2 separate regions of the Homo sapiens genome follow, and region 1 is linked to region 2. The links are contacts of gene promoters, found by promoter capture Hi-C in blood cells and fetal thymus (Javierre and others, 2016). All regions are on one chromosome and are shown on one strand. The core of a region is centred on a gene start or on the middle of the fragment in contact, and the rest is flanking DNA. Distances in the headings are between cores, read along the strand shown. Region 1 overlaps ZBTB40 (zinc finger and BTB domain containing 40). Region 2 holds the start of USP48 (ubiquitin specific peptidase 48).

Evidence for each region. Contacts are between HindIII fragments. The CHiCAGO score rates a contact against its expected background, and 5 or more counts as called.
Region 1: a contact is called between a fragment that was not itself captured here and the fragment with the promoter of USP48 in region 2, in 5 of 17 cell types (naive CD8 T cells, activated CD4 T cells, naive CD4 T cells and 2 more). The highest score is 8.5, in naive CD8 T cells.

What each region holds. Positions count from the first base shown.
Region 1 is chr1:22,452,201-22,458,724 of GRCh38, forward strand. All of the region lies in intron 1 of ZBTB40 (zinc finger and BTB domain containing 40), which reads left to right. Among named protein-coding and RNA genes, the nearest start is that of ZBTB40, 3.6 kb to the left of the region's middle. RefSeq lists an enhancer at 1-141 and a silencer at 45-134. The HindIII fragment of the contact is 9,659 bases long and covers 1-6,524 here.
Region 2 is chr1:21,778,254-21,785,157 of GRCh38, forward strand. USP48 (ubiquitin specific peptidase 48) reads right to left here and starts at 4,896. Exons shown (of 27, transcript NM_032236.8): 1 at 4,571-4,896. The coding sequence starts at 4,704. RefSeq lists enhancers at 3,580-3,629, 3,942-4,713, 4,190-4,289, 4,714-5,484, 5,230-5,279 and a silencer at 4,660-5,019. The HindIII fragment of the contact is 2,827 bases long and covers 3,556-6,382 here.

The sequences.
Region 1 (6,524 bases), core at 3,297-5,796, 670 kb after region 2:
GCTGTAGACTGCGGAGGGGAGAGACCGCGGGGACCCACTCAGGGCGCCAGGCCCGACCTGACACCGCCTGGGGCTCGCTGTCGCCCCGCACCTCCCTCTCGGCCCGTCCGGAGGCCTCTTGTCGCTGTCTCACTCCCCCTCCCTTCAGGTCCCTTCGCCGGGCGTCAGCGGACTATGGCCTTGGGCCTAATCCATGCCCCCCTTCTCTCTTCCCCTCTCGGTCTTTGTTTACAGTTGCAAATGGTTAGGGGGAAGAATATTTCATGTAATTTGCGAAAGTTCTATGAAATCAAGTCCATAAATGAAGTTTTATTGGAACACGGCCCTGTTCATTGTTGATGTATTGTCTATGGCTGCTTTCCTGCCAAGAGGGCAGAGCTGAGTAGTTGCGCAGCCGTTGCTTGGCTTTGATCGGCTGGCTCACAAAGCCAGAAATATTTCTGTCTGGTCCCTTACAGCAAAAGTTTACTGACCCCTGCCCTAAACACAAGGAGATTGGATCAGTGTTGTCATTCAGCTATTCCTCTCGTCGGTTCTTCTGGAGTGGGAAAAGAGTTAAAACTGCGCGATGCACCGAGAGCACTTTAGTTGACAGAACACTCTGGCTTCCCTTCTGGTCTTACTGACTATTCAGAGTTTCTCCTGCTTTGAATAGCGTTGGTACCATGCAGCCAGTGCTGCAATGAACCAGGTGCTTTATTTATATTCATACAAGTGTTGTTCTACTTTATGACGACGCTTTATAAGTAAGTATGGTATTTCCATTTTACAAACGAGGAAGAAATTTGTTCTGAGTGGTTAATATATGTATAGGTGTACTAGGTTATAGGGCTGCCAAATTGAGCCTGTCCCTGGGAGCCCCCTGCCTGATGGCACCGGTCAAACTGCTTTGGATTTTATTCTTTCAAGTCTTTTCTACCTGGAATTGTTTGTTCTTCCCTGGAATTGTACCCAGATCTTTGTATGGTTAATGGAGATTTAATTACAATCTCAGTGAAATTTTTTTCTACTTAGCTAAATCATCAAACTTCTGCCCCTCCTTTCTAATATAAACACTTTTCTTCTATGTCAGTAGTCCCCAAACTTAGCTATTCATTAGTGGTTTAACAAATGGTTTCAGAACACCCCATGCATGTACGCATGCATTCATTAATCATTTAGTGTTTGTTGAGCACTTACTGTGTACCAGAGACGTTTCAAATTCCTGGAAATACAGTGGTGAACAAGACAAATATGATTTCTGCCCTTCCATGGAATTTAAATTCTATGTGGGGCTTGGACAAGTGGTATACAGGTAGACAAAGATAATTTCAAATACAGCTGTAATAGCATCATCATAATAAAATTATTAGTTGCTATTTACTGAGTGATTATTTTGTGCCAGGTACTGTGCTAAGTGCTTTATTTATATGGACTATCACTTAATCCTCACACCAATACTATGACATAAGTAGTATTAATATTACCATTTTACGCATAGAGGAAACAAACTCACGTCGGAGAGATGTTCGAGGTTACATAGCTAAGGCATTCAGCTGAGAGCTGAAGCTAATCTGATCACACTGAACACCCTGTATTGTTCCATCTGTTTATTGTCTTTCCTACTAGCTTAGGAGGTCCTTAAGGGCAGGGACCACACCTTACTGTTGTTATCCTCAGCTGCTAGCCAGTACCCACAACCTGGTGTTTGCAGGTAAATACCAAGTAAACAAATCTAGGTCATTCATTGAACAAATTTTTATTTTATTTTATTTTATTTATTTTTTTGAGACAGAGTCTCGCTGTGTTGCCCAGGCTGGAGTGCAGTGGCACAATCTCGGCTCACTGCAACCTCCGCCTCCCGGGTTCAAGTGATTCTTCTGCCTCAACCTCCTGAATGGCTGGGACTACAGGCATGTGCCACGACACCCGGCTAATTTTTTGTGTGTTTTTAGTAGAGACAGAGTTTCACCATGTTGTTCAGGCTGGTCTTGAAGTCTTGACCTCAAGTGATCTGCCCGCCTCAGCCTCCCAAAGTGCTGGGATTATAGGCGTGAGCCATCGCGCCCGGCCTCGAACAAATATTTTAGTGTCTCCATGTACCAAGCACCACTGTCTAGGTCCTGTGATTACCAGGGTGAGCAAGATGGACCTGGGGCTCTGTTCTGGAAGCTAAAGCCTAGTGTCAAGACAGTAAAGAAATAACAAAGTTATTCCAAATTGTGGCAACTGCTCTAAAGGAAATAAAACAGCACGGAGAGAGACACTAACCTGGGAGACTCACTTTTTATCTGGGTGGTCAGGGAAAACCTCTCTTAAGAAAGGCAGTTTAAGCTGAAACTTGTTGAGTGACAAGGAACCAGTCTAGCAAGAAGGGGAAAGGGAGAGACGAAGCTGGGAGGAAGAACTTTTCAGCAGGTTCAGAGACTAAGGTGGGTAACAACGTGAGATGTTGGAGAACTCAAAGGGAGTCACTGTGCTGTGGTTCACTCCTGTGCTCAGTCCCTGGCCGTGAACCCAGCTACTACTGAGAGAACTGCACGCCCAAGGGCAAGTTACAGATTAGTTATCTGACCTGGAAAATGTGGATAATGGTGCCTCCTCAAAGGGTTGTGCAGATTAAATAAGAGAAACTGTATTCATAGCTATGGTATTTTCTTTTTGTTGTTGTTACACATATTGCTGAATAACCAAATTTAGCTCCAAATGGAAACTTTATAAAGTGCTAACTAATAACAAAAATCCAGAAATACATTACAGACAAAATTAAGAATGGGGGAATCCAATTAAAAATAGAAGCCCTCTACTTTCTATCTCCAGAAAGAGGGGAGCAGATCTTGTTTTTTCTTAGTGTTTCTGCTTGGAGAGGAACTTTTCCAAATGGCATCTAATTTTTTTAAAGCCAAATTGTACAGCTGTCTATGCAGAACACTTTTCAGCATTTTAGTGTTTTAAGTTGGAAACTACTTATGTTCCTCCATCAAAGGTGTATGTATTCTCTTAAGGCATTCTAAACAAATGTTAGACTTTTAGTTGGTGGCGATTTAAAAATTTGTTTGTGCATGATTTCAAGTTTCCTCCAAAAGTTTTCAAAATAATGTCACATACTCTAAAACAGTATTGAATGCTTTGAGGCAAATGGCAGGCTTTTTGACTAAGTAAAAATAGGATAATGTTCGGGTTCATAAATGTAAGAAATTAGAAGCAATAATAAATCAAGGGAACTATGTAAGAAGAACAGCATGGCAGGTTTCGCTTTAAACTCTCCCTAGTAACCATATTGCACATGTCATCAGAAGACACATTCTAACCCTGCAAACGGAGCAAAGAACTGGACAGAGAGTGTCATTTAATGCAATGTTAAACAACAAGCCCTGAATTAAATTGCTATTTTAGGTTTGGGTGGGACCTTTGCATCTAAAGTATTGCAGTTTTACTCTGTGATTTGGGTCTGTTGGGTTCCAGTAAAGAGCAGGTGCTAACACTAGCTTTGAAGGATAGTATGAAACTGCAAGAAGAGCCAGGGCATACCAGTTTGTTTTTCAGTCTATTTTATTTCAGTTCAAAGCATCATTGCAGACAGGCAGCCCCGGAAAACGAGCCACACTTTGGCAACACTCACCTGCTTTTGGAGATTGAGGAAGACTGAGTATAACCCAAGTGTGGCTTGTTTTCTTGGACTATCTGTCTGCAATGATGCTTTGAACTGAAATAAAATAGATTGAAAAACAAATTAGTATGCCCTGTTGCCTCGTACTGAGTATTTACATTACCCTTCTCGAGTACTGCCTGAACCAGCACCCTGAGGGAAGGCAGTGACCCCTCAGCCTCTTTCAACTCTTCAGCAGAGTGAGCTCTTTGATTTTCACAAGGAAATTGAATTGGGATATATGGTTTTCTGGATCTCCAATAGTCTGCCTTCCAAAGCCATCATCTGGATAATGTGGAGAAAGCAAGCTACTAACCACATAGAGGAAAGAATTAAATATTAAGGGCATTTAAATTGAGAGATGAGATTGTCACTTTCTGTAAGTCTAGCAGAGAGTGCAGTATTTCATTTGCAGGGAGCATGCAGTTTTGAGACTCTGGCAGCCCTCGAGAGAGAAGGATAAGGAAAGAAAGCCAGCTTTCCTTACATTTCCCTAATGTTGTTATTTAACTCCAAATCCTCAAAATTATGATGCCACGTATTTCATTTCCTTACATAAATGTATTATGCTGATCCATGTAAGTCAGAGATTGTTAATCTCAGGGTAAATGGTTGAATTTCAAGAGACCCATGAATCCTTTGAAGTTGCCTGCAAATTTGTGTGAATGTCATTTTTTCTGGGGAGAGAGCCAGTTACTTTAATCTGATCTCAGAAAGGCCCTTGACCCTTTAAAAGGTGCAGAACCAACAATGAAACATCACATGTAACATCACCTAACTGAAGGCGCGATGAGAATCTCCCCTGAAACCAGGTACTGTTTCACTGCTCTGTAACCTTAATCTCAGATTTTAAGTCTTTTCAGGCTTTGTTTTCTGTCTAAAGTGGTCAAGCATAGTTGAATGTTTGTGTAACATAGATATCTGCCCATTGAACTGCTTCATAAATGCCTTACAGATGGTTGTTGTTAATTTACATGAGACTGGTGAGATGTGGACCTATTGTCTAGGCAACCTCGTTAGCAGATATCATAACTGTTTCTACTGATAGAGGAAAGGAGGAGGTAGTGGAAGCTCACTGCTTTGTTTCTAGGCATCAGCTTCTTGCAGATGGAGTCAGTTCCTCAGACTTAACGAAGGCTGGGTTAAAAGGGAAAGAAGGCTGGGCACAGTGGCTCATGCCTGTGATCCCAGCACTCTGGGAGGCTGAGGCAGGAGGATCACTTATGCAAGCCCAGGAGTTGAGGCTGCAGTGAGCTGTGATCAGACCACTGCATTCCAGTTGAGACCCTGTCTCTATTTTTTTTTTTTAAAGGAAAGAAGAAGAGGGGAGGGGATAGACTTGAGGAAGCAGAGGATTAAAGAAAGAAAGGCTGTTTCCCTGCATTTGTCCACAGAGTCCCCTCTCTTTATCTCTGTGAAAAGAAAAAGCTGCTATATTGAGGCAAAACCTATCTCAGAATTTAACTAATACTTGGACTTCTGAAAAAGGCAATTCATAAATGTAATTTCTGGTTTTATTAGTACCCAAAGGGAAACAAAAACAAGGAAATATCTTTATCTTAGGATATTCTGTAAAACTGGGACCTCAATAGAAAACTCCTATAGGCCAGAGTTTGGCTCATAGAGTGTTTAAAAAGTAGTTACTTCCATTTAAGCATTAGAGATTTTCCATCTGTCTGACCCCTGGAGGCGTTTGCATGAGCGACCTCTGCTGCAGGCACTAGCGTGGTTCTGGAACAGGACCAAACAGTAGAGGATGCTTTATGCAAGAAATGGGCCAAGAAGGATGAGGAAATTAGAAACAAAGGATTATAACTGTAAATAATAGGTTTTCAGGCTCCAAATATTGGTTATTTGTTGGTTAATATTTGTTAGCTAGTGTTAGCTATAGTGGGGTTATTTTTAGCATAAAAACAAAGGTGAACGGTAGGTGATTCTATTTCTTATTTTGAGAAAATACTGTAAGAGGTAATCTAACCTGCTAATTTCGTCCTATTTCTCAGCTTTCTAGGACTGGGGCCTGACCATTGAGTCTTCCTGAGTTTTCCTTCTTGACTCCTTTTGCTCCTTGTCCCCATTAGCTCCAGAAGATGGTCTCCAGGGCATTGGCAGCAGTGAATTTGCCATCTTTCTTCCACCTGGTACTTCTCCCTGGTTCTTAGGCTCAGTGGATGGCACCACAGAGTTGCCAAAGGCAGAAACCTGGGAATGGTGCCATGATCTTCTCTTTCAGCACATATTTAGTTAGGCTACAGGACTGTTGATTTCTTCTACCCTTTCTCTTCCTTTGGTTAGAGTTGCTATAATCTCTTGTCCTGGATTATGAAACAGCCTTCTAGTTGGTCAGTGGCTTTCAGCTTCATTCCTCTCCAATCTATTTGGTACACTGTTACCAGTGGTCTTTATAAAGCACAGATCGGAATATGTGATTCCCTTGCTTTAAAACTCTTGGATGGCTTGCCTGCCCTTAGGATGGTCCAGCAAGTGCTACCCTCCAACTGTGGCTGTGCCTGTCTCTCAAGCCTCTGAGCAGCCCCTCCTCCCACAATTCACCTTATATTGAGCACCAGTTGAAATCTCTCAGTGGCCACAGGACTTCATCCTTTCTGGGGCCAGTGGGCCACATTCCAAGGCTTCAAGGCTGCTCCCTCTCCCTGGACTTCCCTGCTGCTGGTATCAACCAGGCCAGTAGCAATGCCATTATCTACACTGACCTTTATATTACTGAATGCTGTTTGGGTTTTCTGTTATTCCTTTTTTCCTTAGAATATATGCTACTTGAGATGTGTAGTCAGATATTGTCTTAAAGTCACTTGATGTAATTATCTTCTGTGTAGTTGTATCACCAACTTCATAAACAGGCTCTTTTTCTTGAATACTTTTTTAAAAAATTAAT
Region 2 (6,904 bases), core at 3,646-6,145:
ATATATGAATGGCCAATAAGTACACAAAAAGATGTTTAACGTGATTAGTCATCAATGAAACACAAATCAAAACATAAGACACCACTTCGCACCCACTAGGATGGCTAAAAGAAAAAAGGCAGTAACAAGTATAGGGACATAGAGCAATTGGAATCCTCATATACTGCTTGTGAATATGTAAAATAGCGCAGCCACTCTGGAAAGTAACCTGACAATTCCTCAAAATATTAAACACAGACATGGTGGTTCGTGCCTACAGTCCCAGCTACCAGGGAAGCTGGGGCAGGAGTATTGATTGAGCCCAGGAGTTCAAGGACAGCCTACACAACATAGCAAGACCCTCATCTTAAAAAAAAAAAAAAAAAAAAAGCCAAAAAAAGGCCATGAACAGTTTCATTCATGCAATCCAAGCATTTCAGGGGGCCAAGGCAGGAGGATCACTTGAAGCAAGGAGTTCAAGACCAGCTTGGGCACCAAAGTGGGACTCCATTTCCACAAATTTTTTTTTTTTTTTGGAGACGGAGTCTCGTTCTGTCACCCAGGCTGGAGTGCAGTGGCGTATCTCAGCTCACTGCAAGCTCTGCCTCCCGGGTTCGTGCCATTCTCCTGCCTTTGCCTCCCGGGTTTATGCCATTCTCCTGCCCCAGCCTCCCGAGTAGCTGGGACTACAGGCATCCGCCACCATGCCCGGCTAATTTTTTGTATTTTTAGTAGAGACGGAGTTTCACCACGTTAGCCAGGATGGTCTCGATCTCCTGACCTCGTGATCCGCCAGCCTTGGCCTCCCACAGTGCTGAGGTTACAGGCGTGAGCCACCACGCCCAGCAAAAAAATTTTGTTTAATTAGCCTCGTGTTGTGGCATGTGCCTGTAGTGGCAGGAGGCTGAGGCGGGAGGATTGCTTGAGCCCAGGAGTTCAAGGCTGCAGTGAGCCATGATTGCACTGCAATACAGTCTGTGTTACAGAGTGAGACCTCATTAAAAATAAATAAATAAATAAAAGTTAAAAGAGCTGGGTGCGGTGGCTCAAGCCTGTAATCCCAGCACTTTGGGAGGCCGAGGTAGGTGGATCACCTGAGGTCAGGAGTTCAAGACCAGCCTGGCCAACTTGGCGAAACCCAGTCTCTACTAAAAAATACAAAAAATTAGCCGGGTGTGGTGGTGGGCGTCTGTAATCCCAGTGACTCAGAGGCTGAGGCACAAGAATCGCTTGAACCTAGGAGGCAGAGGTTGCAGTGAGCCGAGATGGCGCCACTGCACTCCAGCCTGGGCAACACAGAGAGACTCCGTCTCAAAAAAAAAATAATAATAATAATAAAAAGTTAAAAGTTACCACACAACCCAACAATCCCACTTCTTGCTCTATAACCAAGAGAAATAAAAATAAATGCCCACACAAAAACTACTACACTAATGTTCATAGCAACATTATAATAGCCAAAAAGTAGAAATGACCCAAATGTCTATCAGCAGATGAATGCAAATTAAAAATGTGGTAGATACAGAGATATGATGGCATATTATTGATCAATAAAAGGAAAAGAGGCAACGAGCACATGAAAAGACGCTGAACTCATTAGTCACTAGGAAAATGCAAATCAAAACTACAAAGATGCATCACTTCACACCCAAGTAGGAGGGCCTAACCAGAAAAACAGAAAATAGTACCTGTTTATGAGGATGATGAAGCATTTGAACCCTCATACATCACTGGTGGGAATGTAAATCGGTACAACCACTGTGGAAGTTTCGCGGTTCGGTTAAGTTAAACACAGAATTGACTGTGTATGACCCAGTAATTCCACTCCCAGGTAAAGAACTGAAATCAGATGTTCAGACCAAAACTTGTATGCAAATGTTCAGAGAAGTACTACTCAAAATAAGCAAAAGGTGGAAATAATCAAAATGTCCCTCAACTGATGAATAGATATATAAAATGTGGTATTATCCATAAAATGGAATACTACTCAGCCGTAAGGAATAAAGTAGTGACACATGCGCAGCAGGGATAACCCTTGGAAACATTACGTTAAGTGAAACCAGACACAAATGGCCACGTACTGTATAATTCCATTGCTATGAAATATTAATAGAGAAATCCAGAGACAGAAAGTAGATTAGCAGTTGCCAGGGGCTGGGCGAGGGGGGAAAATGGGAAGTGACTAACAGATGCTCAGTTTCCTTTTAGGATAATGAAAAGTTCTGGAACCAGACAGTGGTGATGGTTGTACAACACTATAAAGGTACTGAAACCCACCGAATTGTGCACTTTAAAATGGTAAACACTGTCATATGTATTTCCCAGGTATTTTTTTAATGAAATGAAGTGCTGAAACATGCTACAACATGGATGACCCTTAAATACATAAGTAAAGGAAATCAGTCACAAAAGTCCACGTATTTTAGGATTCCATTTATATGAAATGTCCAGAATAGGGAAATTTAGAGGCGGAACATACAGGGCATACAGAGCCAAGATAAGATAATTTTTTTTTTTTTTTTTTTTTTGAGACTGAGTCTCGCCCTGTTGCCCAAGCTGGAGTGCAGTGGCGTGATCTCGGCTCACCGCAACCTCCACCTCCCGGGTTCCAGGGTTCTCCTGCCTCAGCCACCCCAGTAGCTGGGATTACAGGCGCCCGCCACCACCCCCGGCTAATTTTTGTATTTTTAGTAGAGACGGGGTTTCACCATGCTGGCCAGGCTGGTCTCGAACTCCTGACCTCGTGATCCGCCCATCTCGGCCTCCCAAAGTGCTGGGATTACAGGCATGAGCCACCGCACCCGGCCTATTCTTTTTTCTTTTAAAATTTTTATTTTAAAAATTTATTTTTTTAAATTTATCCAGCGTCTCACGACGCTGTCTCGAAAAAAAAAAAAGTATCGGCCTGGCGGGCGGTGGCTCACGCCTGTAATGCCAGCACTTTGGGAGGCCAAGGCGGTCAAATTATCTGAGGTCAGGAGTTCGAGACCAGCCTGACCAACATGGAGAAACCCTGTCTCTACTAAAAATACAAAAAATAAAAATAATAAAAAAAAATTAGCCGGGCATGATGGTGCATGCCTGTAATCCCAGCTATTCAGGAGGCTGAGGCAGGAGAATCGCTTGAACCAAGGAGGCAGAGGTTGCAGTGAGCCGAGATCACGCCATTGCACTCTAGCCTGGGCAATAAGAGCGAAACACCGTCTCAATAAATAAATAAATATCAGAAATTGGCCCAGCATGGTGGCTCACGCCTGTAATCCCAGAAGAGGTGGGCAGATCGCTTGAGCCCAGAGCTCGAGACCAGCCTGGCCAACATGGCGAAAACCCGTCTCCACTAAAAATACAAAACTGAGTCGGGCGTGGTGGCCCGTGCCTCTAATCCCAGCTACTCCGGAGGCCGAGGTGGGAGGATCGCTTGAGCCTGGGAAACGGAGGTTGCAGTGAGCCGAGCTCGTGACACTGCACTCCAGCCTGTGTGACAGAGTGAGACCCTGTCTCAAAAACCACCAGAACTATTAGTAGTTTACATTATTTGGTTAGTCTGGAAACTAATTACGTTGAGAAACTGACTGAAGCTTGATTATTTCTATTATACACAGACTTCAAACATTCCAGAACTTACTGTTAAAGTCAGATTTACCCTCCTTGTGAGACAGACGCCCAGAGCTTGGACTTATTCGTTTGCTTTATAGAAACTCCCTAACTTATTTCACTTCTCATACTAGACTTTAAGCTCCAAAGCCAGAGACCATGACTTCCATTCCTTCCGGATCCCCCAGCGGAATGTAAAAACTCCAGAAAGCATTTCCTAAATGCCTGCCGAAAGACGGCTACTGAGCATGCCCGGCTTGGCCAAGTCAATTTCAACAACATTCTGAAACAAAAACTATAGTTCCCGCGTTACAAGGTGGAAAAAAGGGAATAAACGGGAGCAAAGCCTAAGGATTCAATCTATATGAGGGGGTTAAGGAAAGGTAAAGTTCAAGGGCGGCGCAGACGTGAAGGACAGCACTATCACAGCTTAAACTTGGTACTCGGTAAACTGGTGTCGAACCAGAACGACCAAAGAAAGGCTTAAAAAAAATACTAGATTAACGAGTGAGGGAAGGCCAACGGGGGTGCAGGGTATCGATGACGTAGGCTGACCACAGTTTTTTCTAAAGCTGCCCTCTACAAAAATAATACTAAGATGATCAGGCCTTCGGTGTCAACACCAACAAGATACACTGTGATGAAGCTCACTTCCAAAAAGTTCCTTTTTACAAACGAAAGAGCCGTGCTGTGGCCAAGATACCCCAACCATCAACGCTTGCTAAGCTCTCAGCTCCTGCCTTCATCTCCACCGCCATCTTCTGGATGGGAACCCAAACCTTCCTAAAGTGCTTTGGCCAGCATCACCTCCGCGCACAGCCCGGGAAGCCTGCGTTTCCCAGGTCGCGCAGACGGCGCAAAGGGGGAAACTCCACCTCGCTCGGCTCCGCGCCTCCCAAATGCACGCAAAGGGCTGCCGTCTTCCTTTCCCCTACCCCGCCCGGGCTTTCCAAGGTCCGGCGCGAGGAGCCCGCGAGGCGCGGTGCGCGGGCCTCACCTGCACACGCCGCGAATGCAGGGCTCCAGCCAGATGCGGTAAGCGGTCTCGATGTGCTCCTGCGACACCTCCTCGGGCCGCACCGTCTCCGCCCAGCGCCAGGCCGCCTTCTCCAGCTGCAGCCGCGGGGCCATGGCCTTGGCCCCAGGAACGCCTCCCGAGCCAGACCGCCGCAGCCGCCGCCGCGGTCTGCACCGCCGCCCCAATGGGCTTCGCCACCTGCCAGCAAGGAGGACCTGGCGCTCCTTCAGGCAGCTGGCCAGTCAATCACCTGTGCGCGCCACTGCCGCCGCGCCCGCCCGCGCCCGACCCGCACGACCGGCCGCAAAGCGCCGCCGTCGACACCCGACACACCCCGCGCCCGCGGACGTTAAAGGTGGACTCCCCGCCGCGCTGAGCGCATGCGCGTTCCCAGCAGCCTCTGCGCCTCCCGCGCCCCTAACCCGACGGGCTGAGGTAGAGGAAGCGTACGTCCGAGGCGGTCTTGCCACGTCCTCACTGGCACTTCTGGAAAAGCAGCGTCTCAGCCCCCGTTCAGGGCGGCGCACTACGTACCACTACTCTAACAAACCAGTGCCTCGAAAGCTATTTCTTGCCTCCGGTACTTCCCTTTTAACCATGAAGTTTTCACGCTAGAGGCTACTCAACGCACACACAGGCCCGCCCAGACTGTGGAGCGGGACCTGTTTAGAGTAGAAACCGAGTCGCCAAAGAAACCAGTGTTGGCTCTTTAGAGGGAGATTTAACTTGAGCCTAGACCGGTTCCGAACCCCTTTCCCGAGCCCTCCTGACGTCATGGGACCTTCCGGCCTTTTCCCGTGCTAGGGTGGGACTACGTGTCCCGGCATGCCCTGCGTCCTGCCACTGACTGTGAGGCATGCTGGGATTTGTAGTCTTCGAGGTGGGAGTGCTCAGTGCGCCGCAGACTGTGCGGGCGGGGGTCCGAGGTGCCAGGGTGGAGTTTCTCTGGTGCGCAAGGTCATGTTTGCTGTTGGCTCCCTTCTCAAGACTGTTACCTCTATGCCAGGATTTTCTAGTTCCTCTCTAGCTCCTGGTTTAAAACATTTCCTTTCTGCGACTCCTGCCCCAGGACATAAAGAGTAGCTTTATGAGAATTGTTTTGCAAACTGTAAAGAACTCTACTAAAGTGAGGATATTTAAGAATTTTGAATTTGAATTAGAGCTCTGCCAGAATCTAAGCGCTAACTTCTGACTCAGCTGCTTGCCTGCTGGAAAACCTTAGGCTGAATTCTTTAGATAAACATTCACTGGGCCGAGCACCGTGGCTCAAGGATCCAATCCCAGCACTTTGGGAGGCCGAGGTGGGCGGATCACCTGAGGTCAGGAGTTCGAGGCCAGCCTGACCAAAATGGAGAAACCCCGTCTCTACTAAAAATACAAAATTAGCAAGGCGCGGTCGCGCATGCCTGTAATCCCAGCTAGTCGGGAGGCAGAGGCAGGAGAATCGCTTGAACCCGGGAGGCGGAGGTTGTGGTTAGCCGAGATAACGCCATTGCACTCCAGCCTGGGCAACAAGAGTAAAACTCCGTCTCAAAAAAAACAAAAAAATTCGCTGAAGGCAGAAGAAAGTAAGATGTGGTCCCTGCCCTTGGAAGTGGGTTAGGGAGTGAGCGGTAGAAATACAAAGATCCCCATCCCAGTCTTGGGAGGCTTCGGGGTACTTGAGAAAAGGCTTCCCAGAAGTAATTCCGAAGCCCGCTTTTAACGGGTGAGTTGGACTTATCCAGGATAGAAGAAAGACACCATTCCAGAAAAAAAGAAACCACAAGGAGCAAAGGCACAGAAGAGAAAAGCTTGGCGTGAGAGGGCCACAATTTCTGAGACAGGGACAGGTGAGAGTTATGGCTTGAAAGGAAGACCTTGCCGCCGGGCGCGGTGGCTCACGCCTGTAATCCCAGCACTTTGGGAGGCCAAGGCGGGCGGATCACGAGATCAGGAGATCGAGACCATCCTGGCTAACACGGTGAAACCCCCTCTCTACTAAAAATACAAAAAAAATAGCCGGGCGTAGTGGCGGGCGCCTGTAGTCCCAGCTACTCTGGAGGCTGAGGCAGGAGAAGGGCGGGAACCCAGGAGGCGGAGCTTACAGTGAGCGGAGATCGCGCCACTGCCCTCCGGCCTGGGCGACTGAGCGAGACTCTGTCTCCAAAAAAAAAACAAAAACAAAACAAAACAACAATAACAACAACAATAAAACAACAATAACAACAAAAAAAAAAACAAAAAAAGGAAGACCTTTATTCAAAGTACCCACTGAAGATATACAGCTGTTGAGTGCTATAATGGAGATTTGCATTTTGTATAGTGAGGCAG